Linked DNA regions of Homo sapiens: all the other regions are linked to region 3. The links are contacts of gene promoters, found by promoter capture Hi-C in blood cells and fetal thymus (Javierre and others, 2016). All regions are on one chromosome and are shown on one strand. The core of a region is centred on a gene start or on the middle of the fragment in contact, and the rest is flanking DNA. Distances in the headings are between cores, read along the strand shown.

Region 1 (2,700 bases), core at 194-2,693, 4.6 Mb after region 3:
TGAACATTCATGTACAAGTTCTTATGTATGTATGTTTTGAATTCTTTTGGGTGTGTACCTAAGAGTGGAATTGCTGGAACATATACCACTTTGTGTTTAAACTTTTGAGGAACTTCTAGACTGCTTTCCAAAGCAGTCGCAGTATTTTACATTTCCATCAGCAGTGTATGAGAGCTCTAATTTATCCACTTCATGCCAACAATTGTTATTATCTCCTTTTTTCATCATAGTTCTTCTAGCAGGTGTGATTTGATCCTGGTTTTGATTTGCATTTCCCTGATGGCTAATGATGCTTTTTATGTGCTGTTGGACATTTGTATATCCTCTTTGGAGAGAAGTGTGTGAAAAGACTCAAATTCTTTGCCCATTTTTATAATGAGTTTTTTAATTATTGAGTTGTAAGAGTCTTTTTTATACTCTAGATGTGTCCCTTATATATGATTTGCAAATATTTTCCTCCATTTTGTGAGTTGTCTTTTCATTTTCCTGATGGTGTCATTTGAGGCACAAACGTTTTTAGCTTGATGAAGTGAAATTCTTGTTATTATTTTTGCTGTGCTTTTGGTGTCGTATCTAAGAAATAATGACTTCTTGTTTCTAATCTAGCTAATCTATCTAATATATCTATTTCTAATCTATATCTAATCTATTTCTAATCTATCTAATATATCTAATCTAAGGCCACAGATATTTACTTCCCTGTTTTGTCCTGAGAGTTTTATAGCCTTAACTCTTACATTTAGATCTTTGATCCATTTTGAATTAATTTCTGTACATGGTCTGTTGTAGAAGTCTAATATCTCTTTGCCTGTGGGTACTTAGTTGCCCCAGTACCATTTATTGAAAAGACTGTTCTTTCTCCATTGAATTGTATCATCACCCCTGTCCAAAATTAATTAACTGTAAGTGTGGAGGATTTATTTCTGGACTTTTAATTCTATTTCATTGATTTATATGTTTATCCTTATACTAGTATGGTCTTGACTACTGTAGCTTTGTAATTGAGAGGTCTGAGTCCTCAAACCTCTCAAAGTTTTTCCTTTTGAGAAGAAAAAATGAAAAACTCTTTTTTTCTTTTTCAAGATTGTTTTGGCTATTTGAATCTCTTGTGTTTCCATATCAATTTTAGGATCAGCTTGTCAGTTTCTGCAAAGAAGTCAGCTGGAATTTTGATGGGGATTGTGTTAAATCTGTACATCAATTTTGGGACCATTGCCATCTGAATATTAGGGCTTCCTGTCCATGAACATGGGATGTTTTTCTATTTATTTAGATCGTCTTTAAGTGTCAACAGTGTTTCATAGTTTTCAGAATATAAGTTTCATACTTCTGTTGCTGCATTTCTTCCCAAGTATTTTATTCTTCCAGATGATATTGTAAATGGAATTAAAAAAAATTTGGGGGGTTTTTGCATGACAAGTGCATAAAAATACACTTGATTTATGTTTGTTGATCTCGTATCCTCCAACCTTGCTGAATTTCTTAGTTCTAATAGTTTTTTTTTTCTTTTTTTTTTGAGATGGAGTCTCACTCTGTCGCCCAGGCTGGAGTGCAATGGCACTGTCTTGGCTCACTACAACCTCTGCCTCCTGGGTTCAAGTGATTCTCCAGCCTCAGCTTCCTGAGCAGCTGGGATTACAGGTGCCTGCCACCATGCCTGGCTAATTTCTGTATTTTTAGTAGAGATGGGGTTTCACTGTGTTGGCCAGGCTGGTCTTGCCGACCTCGTGATCCACCTGCCTCAGCCTCCCAAAGTGCAGGGATTACAGGTGTGAGTCACTGCACCCGGCCAGTTCTAATAGTTTTTAAGTGGATTCCATAAGATTTTCTACATACAAATATCATGTCACCTGCAAACAAATGAAGTTTCAATTCTGCTTTTCCAATATGGATGCATTTTAGTTCCTTTTCTTGCTTAATTGCCCTGGATAGAACCTCCAGAACATTACTGAAAAGAAATGTCAAGAGAAGTCACTTGAGTTGCAGCAATCCTTGTCTTGTTCCCAGTCTTAGGGGGAAAACATTCCATCTTCTGCCATTAAGTAGATGTTAGCTGTGATTTTTTTTTTTTTTTTTTTTAAACTGCTCCTTGCGGAGAAAGGCTAGCCCATAGGCAGGCAGTGTGCGGAAAGTAGTGAGCTATAAGTTTTTCATTAATAGCCTTTATCAGGTTGAGGAAGTTCATTTCCTAGATTGTTGAGTGTTTGTTTGTGTGAGTGTGTGTGTTTGTGAGAGAGTGTTAGGATTGAGTTTTGAGAGAATTGTGAAATGTGGATTAGAAAAATAAAGATGCTATGTCAGGTAATAAGGGGCAGATAATAATGCTTATCTTGCTGGAGGAAGAGGGGCTAGATTTTCCTCTTTTTCCCTCTCCCTTTCTTCCCCATTCCTTTCTTGTTTTTGTTTTGAGACGGAGTCTTGCTCTATCGCCCAGTCTGGAGTGCAGTGGCCTGATCTCAGCTCACTGCAACCTCCGCCTCCCAGGTTCAAGTGATTCTCCTGCCTCAGCCTCTTGAGAAGCTGGGACTACAGGCTAATTTTTGTACTTTTAGTAGAGACGGGATTTTGTACTTTTAGTAGAGATCACTATGTTGGCCAGGCTGGTCTCGAACTCCTGACCTTGTGATCTGCCCGCCTCAGCTGCCCAAAGTGCTGGGATTACAGGTGTGAGCCACCGCGCCCGACCCTTTCTTGATCTTT
Region 2 (2,700 bases), core at 59-2,558, 4.6 Mb after region 3:
CAGACTTAAGCCACTCAAATACATCATCTTTCCCTTATCAGAACTCACCTCACTTATCACACTCCACTACCCGCAGCCCACACCCCAGTATCAGAGACGACCCAGTCCTTGCCATGCCCATAGGTGGCTGGAGGGCGCTCGATGTACGTCCCGCTCCCACTCCCTCCCTCAGGGTGGACGTCTCCAGAATGGAGTGAAACCCTTCATAAGGTCACTTTTAAGTAGTAATGACCCACCCTCTGAAAAACCTAGAGACCAGAAACAGCACGAGGCATTTTCAGCACCCAGAGCAGAATCCGCCTTGCACTCTGCTGCAACCAGAGACTCGGTGCCAGAGCCATTTCCCCTGCAAGACAACCCCTCGCCTTACCTCTACCCATGCACCTTACGGCCGCCGCCATGTTGGGCACTCCGGATTGCGTTCACGAAATTGTTCCTACGTTTCTACTGGGAAGAATTAAAAAAAGGTTCCGTTCTAGAATCCGCAAAGAGGGAAGGAGTTAAAAAGAGAAAGAGGAACGGGGCGGGGACCAAAATGAGCTTTGCTGCCGGCGTGGCGGTGTTACTGTTAGTCCTCCGTGTTGCCCAGGACCCTGTGTGTTTCGTGGTTCCGGTATGGCTGGTTAACCACCTTCGGGAAAATACGATCCTGTTGGCGATGCTGTGATTATTTTAATCCTTCCTTCTTATTCTTTTTCTTTTTTGATCCTGCAAGTGTACTCAGAGCGACAATTTTAACAGGCTGTGAGAGTACTTAATACCCAACGTAAAATCTTGAAAAACAGGAACCCTGAAACCCACTAGCTTCCTCCGCCACTTTTCCGGCCTTGGAAAGACTTATTTTAAAAATTCTCTAGGCGTTTTCGCCGCTACCCGAGGGAGGTGTCCAACTCACTGACAAACTTTTTTTGCTAATTGTCAAACTTTCTGTCAGCGCAAGATCAACCTTAGCTTTAAAATCTTAAATTAATCTCTACATTTACCCCCTGCTGGCAAGCGAGTAGACTTACCATTAGGATCAATTGAATAATAATACTTGACATTTATAAAACATTTCTAGTTTTAAAATGGCAGCTCCAAGACCCACGCACAAGTTATTCTGATAGGAAAAAAAAACAAAAACAAAACAGAATGAGTGTACTTTCCATTACGTCACAGCTGTCGGTGTGGTTTATCTAAAACAAATCTGATTACGGATTTTATCACTTCCCAGCTTACCTCCCCCACAACACACACACACACACACACACACACACACACACACACACGTTTCTCACCTCCATAACTTGGTTCATTCTATCTTCTCTGCTTCGTGTGTACCGTACCCTACATCACCTAGGTAACTTTTTAAAGATTTCGCCTCAGGCTGTGTTTCTTTTAAACAGTTTTGAGATATAATTTACATAGCATACAATCTACCAATTTAAATTGTACAATTAAATGGTTTTTAGTGTACTCAAAGAGTTGTGCAGCCATCACCACAATATATCAGTTCTTGTCACCAGTCTGAGCTTTTTATGGGTAGAAACCATCTTACTCATTTTTGTAACCTCAGCACATACTTCAGTGCCAGGCCCATAGGAGGCTCTCAGTAAATGTTTGCTGAATAAATGAATATATGCATACATGAATTAGTGACTCAATTAGAATGGCAAGCCTGCAAAATTAACTTGCTTCAATGAAGCTGCCCACAGGCAGATGAACTGGATCAAAGGCATTTCCCAGATGCTTTATTCATATTTATACATAGTACTCATCTACATGAAAAAATAAGATTTCTAATGTATTGCCTTGTCTTGTTAACACCTAAGCAGTTACTTCAAAGATTCTATAACAATTTGTGACTTATGCAAAAAAATCGAAGAACTTAAATCTATCTTTGTAAACTTTTCCTTCTCTCCCTCGCTCCCTCTCATCCTCCCTTCTTTTCACAAATATATGAGTGCCTGCCATGTGTCAAGCAGTGTACTTGGCTATGCATAAATGAAAAAAACTAATTCAATTTGAGAGTAAGTACCAGAATTGGAGCAAGTTTACCCAGTCAATTTCAGAGAAAAACAAACACTCAGATTAGAGGTGCTGGTCCTTAGACCCTATATCTGTTTCCTTTCCACAGTCCACAGCTGGGGTCAGTTGGCCCCCATCTGTGGACTTTTTTTTCCCCCTCTCAAGACAGGATCTCACTCTGACACCCAAGCTGGAGTGCAGTGACAAGATCATAGCTCATTGCAGCCTTCACCTGCTGGGCTCAAGTGATCCTCATGTCTCAGCCTCCCAAGGGGCTGGGACTACAGGCACACACCACCACACCTGGCTAACTTATTTTTATTTTTCTTTATAGACAGCGGGGAGTGTGGGGTGTCTTTCTTTTTTGCCCAGGCTGGTCTCAAACTCCTGGCTTCAAGCAATCCCAAAGTGCTGGGATTACAGGTGTGAACCAACACGGCAGGCCCCATTTATGGACTTTTTTATGTCTACTGTTCTAACAAGAGAGTTTAAACATCCTATATTGAAACTATTACCATATAGTATGCTTACATACCATATAGTATGCTTATAGTGGTAGCCTAATTAAAGTAATGTCCTGTACAGGTACAGCTTACCTGTTGCCCACTCTGGTCACCAGAACTCGATGGCATTAGGTAGGATCCAGATTCCAGTTTTGTATATAACAATACATAAAGAGATTCCTTAGCCTGA
Region 3 (2,700 bases), core at 103-2,602:
ATACTTTGTATATCTCGACTATTATTGTGCATGCAAGCACCTCTAAGAAGTACTTGTATCTGCAATGAATTCTTAAACCTCAGGGAGCCAAATAAAAAGACAAGGCCCGAGGAATTCTTTCAAAAATTAAAGTAACATTTCATATTTGCTTATTCTAACAGACAAAGAATAAAGAAGGAATCCGCTAAGTTGCAAGCTGAGGTGCAGACAAGTGCTGGTTCACAGTGACATCCTAGAAGGAATGCTCTGGATAAGAGCTTCAAGCTTCTGTGGTTTTCTGAGGAAAGTGAACGGAATCTAGACGTGTCCTATAGCTCAAAAAATCAGCGCTATGGACCACAGCGCCTAACAGAGTAAAATAATACACTGTGCAGTTTGGCCACTAACAGCAAGAGTGGGAAGGGGCGAAGAGGAACCTTGATTGCCCGACACCAGGGCCACCTGAAAAGTCATCTTGACACTTCAGTCTTTCCATTTTGAGATCGGAAGCTTTAAGGACCATTAAATCGCTGCCGCTGCCACACCAGGCCCGACGGAGCAGAAAGGCTGCGCTCACCTGCGGAAGCGACCGGGTGCACACCTGCCGGGTGGCGAGGCCCGCACCGTCACACCCCGCCCCGGCTTACCTGCCCTTCGGTGATTTTTAGCGTCAACTTCCATCCCTTCCCACCCATCTGGATCCAACCAAGCGCAAGGGCGGGGGAGGGAGAAGCTAGTGTCGCGAGGAAAAGCATCCCCGCAACCCACCGCAGGCTTTCTCTCCTTCCTCCCCATTCCACACAAGAGGCAGCCACACCGCCTCTCCTAACCCTCGTCTCCAATGCAAGGCCTGAAATACTTAGAAAAAATAATAACTGTTTTTAAGGAAAAGTAACATCCCCGCTCCCTTCCGCCCCTCACCTTCACGAAAGCAATCGGGGTTGTGGTACCTTCGATATCTAACAGGATCACGGTGACTTCGGCGGGGACCGAAAGCACGACCATTTCCCTACCGGATGCTACGGGACTCGGCCTGCTGTTGGGGAGGGCGGAGGGCGGCGCCGGCTGCGGCTGCGGCCCCCGGTACCGTCTTGGGCTTCCGGCGGCCCCGCGCGATCTCGGAGCCAGCGACCAAGTGCAGCCCGCCGCGCGTGGGGAGAGGACACTTCTGCACACCTGGAACTGGAAAAGGCGGCCGCCCAGGAGCCCTGAACTCGTGAGCAGGACGGGGCAGGAGCCCGAGACCACGTGGGCAGGAAAAGGGGCGGCCCTTGACGGGTTCGGCGGGGCGGGGAGGGTGAAGGCGCCAGCGCCGATTGGCCGCCGTCAGGCCTCGAACTGGATCCGTCAAAATGGGCCTCGCGTGGGCGGGAACAAAGAAGCGAACGCGGGAGCAGGGTGCGCGAGAGCGCGCCCTCCGCAGACAGGTTGAGCGAGCGGGAGAGGCCCGGGGCACGTGCAGAAAGGAGCCCCGCGAGTGGCGCGCCGGGGATGTGAGTGCCCCTTGCCCTCTACTGAATCCAGCCCCCTCCCCGCCCACCGCCTCCGCCTTTGCATAGATACAGTCATCTGGCCAGCCCCCGCCCCTCCTCCCGGCGTCAGCCCGCCAGAGGCCGCGCGGGGCCCGGGCTTCGGCCGATCAGCCCGGGAGGCCCCGCCGCGCCCCCTTGGCCCGCGCGCCCGTGGTCACAGTGGAAGAGGCGCCCGCGCTGCGCTGCCCGGAGGAGCCGTCGCGCGCCCGCTTCCTGTTCGGCTGGTTCCTGCCAGCTCGAGGACAAAACACGCGTGCGCGCGGCGGGCGAGCGCGCTCGCCGCCTCAGTCGCCAGCGCCGGGCGCAGTCCGCCTTTTTCCGGAGCAGACTGGCCGCGGTGCTAGTCGGTAGCAGCGGCCGCCGCAGCGGCTCCGCACTGGCGAACCGAGGGCAGAAAAAGGCGGGGTTGACGGCTTTTTGGTAGGAGTGGGCTGGACCGGACGCCAGAGACAAAGGCTCCCAAGGCAAGAGGGACTGTGGCCCTGCGTCGGCTCTGCTCGGGACTGCTGACCCCAGGAATTTACGCCCCTTCGTTTTTCTCTTCTGATTCTTCTCTTCTCCCAAGCCCGCGTCCCCTCACGCGTGGCCTCTCTCCTTGCCGGGAGGGCCGCGATGGAGGTCCCGCCCAGGCTTTCCCATGTGCCGCCGCCATTGTTCCCCTCCGCTCCCGCTACTTTAGCCTCCCGCAGCCTCTCCCATTGGCGGCCGCGGCCGCCGCGGCAGCTAGCCCCGCTCCTCCCTTCGCTCGCTCCCAGCTCCGCCCGGCAGGGGGCGCGCCGGGCCCAGCGCCACGTCACCGCCCAGCAGCCCTCCCGATTGGCGGGCGGGGCGGCTATAAAGGGAGGGCGCAGGCGGCGCCCGGATCTCTTCCGCCGCCATTTTAAATCCAGCTCCATACAACGCTCCGCCGCCGCTGCTGCCGCGACCCGGACTGCGCGCCAGCACCCCCCTGCCGACAGCTCCGTCACTATGGAGGATATGAACGAGTACAGCAATATAGAGGAATTCGCAGAGGGATCCAAGATCAACGCGAGCAAGAATCAGCAGGATGACGGGTACCGCACGCTTCTTCCCCCGCTCCCCCTCCCCCAGCGCGCCGCACGCGCCCTTCGTTCCTCGTGAGCCGCGCGCTGCCCCCATTCTTTCTCAGAGTCGATTCCCCGCGTGCCTTCTGGGCCCCACTAGATTG

The links. The method cuts DNA at HindIII sites, captures the fragments that hold promoters and counts their contacts. A CHiCAGO score of 5 or more calls a contact.
Region 1: a fragment that was not itself captured here is called in contact with the fragment with the promoter of HNRNPDL in region 3 in 1 of 17 cell types (activated CD4 T cells); the score reaches 6.9 in activated CD4 T cells.
Region 2: a contact is called between a fragment that was not itself captured here and the fragment with the promoter of HNRNPDL in region 3, in 2 of 17 cell types (fetal thymus and naive CD8 T cells). The highest score is 8.2, in fetal thymus.

Annotation. Positions count from the first base shown.
Region 1 is chr4:77,811,254-77,813,953 of GRCh38, reverse strand. All of the region lies in intron 1 of CNOT6L (CCR4-NOT transcription complex subunit 6 like), which reads left to right. Among named protein-coding and RNA genes, the nearest start is that of CNOT6L, 6.8 kb to the left of the region's middle. The HindIII fragment of the contact is 6,201 bases long and covers 1-2,700 here.
Region 2 is chr4:77,860,550-77,863,249 of GRCh38, reverse strand. MRPL1 (mitochondrial ribosomal protein L1) reads right to left here and starts at 420. Exons shown (of 9, transcript NM_020236.4): 1 at 371-420. The coding sequence starts at 401. RefSeq lists an enhancer at 333-732 and a silencer at 2,217-2,432. The HindIII fragment of the contact is 4,015 bases long and covers 1-2,700 here.
Region 3 is chr4:82,429,114-82,431,813 of GRCh38, reverse strand. HNRNPDL (heterogeneous nuclear ribonucleoprotein D like) reads left to right here and starts at 1,352. Exons shown (of 8, transcript NM_031372.4): 1 at 1,352-2,566. The coding sequence starts at 2,124. It overlaps ENOPH1 (enolase-phosphatase 1), which reads right to left and starts at 1,224. Exons shown (of 6, transcript NM_021204.5): 1 at 901-1,224. The coding sequence starts at 984. RefSeq lists enhancers at 634-733, 1,097-1,892, 2,044-2,133, 2,454-2,513, 1,893-2,688 and silencers at 974-1,293, 1,414-1,813, 2,184-2,423. The HindIII fragment of the contact is 3,206 bases long and covers 492-2,700 here.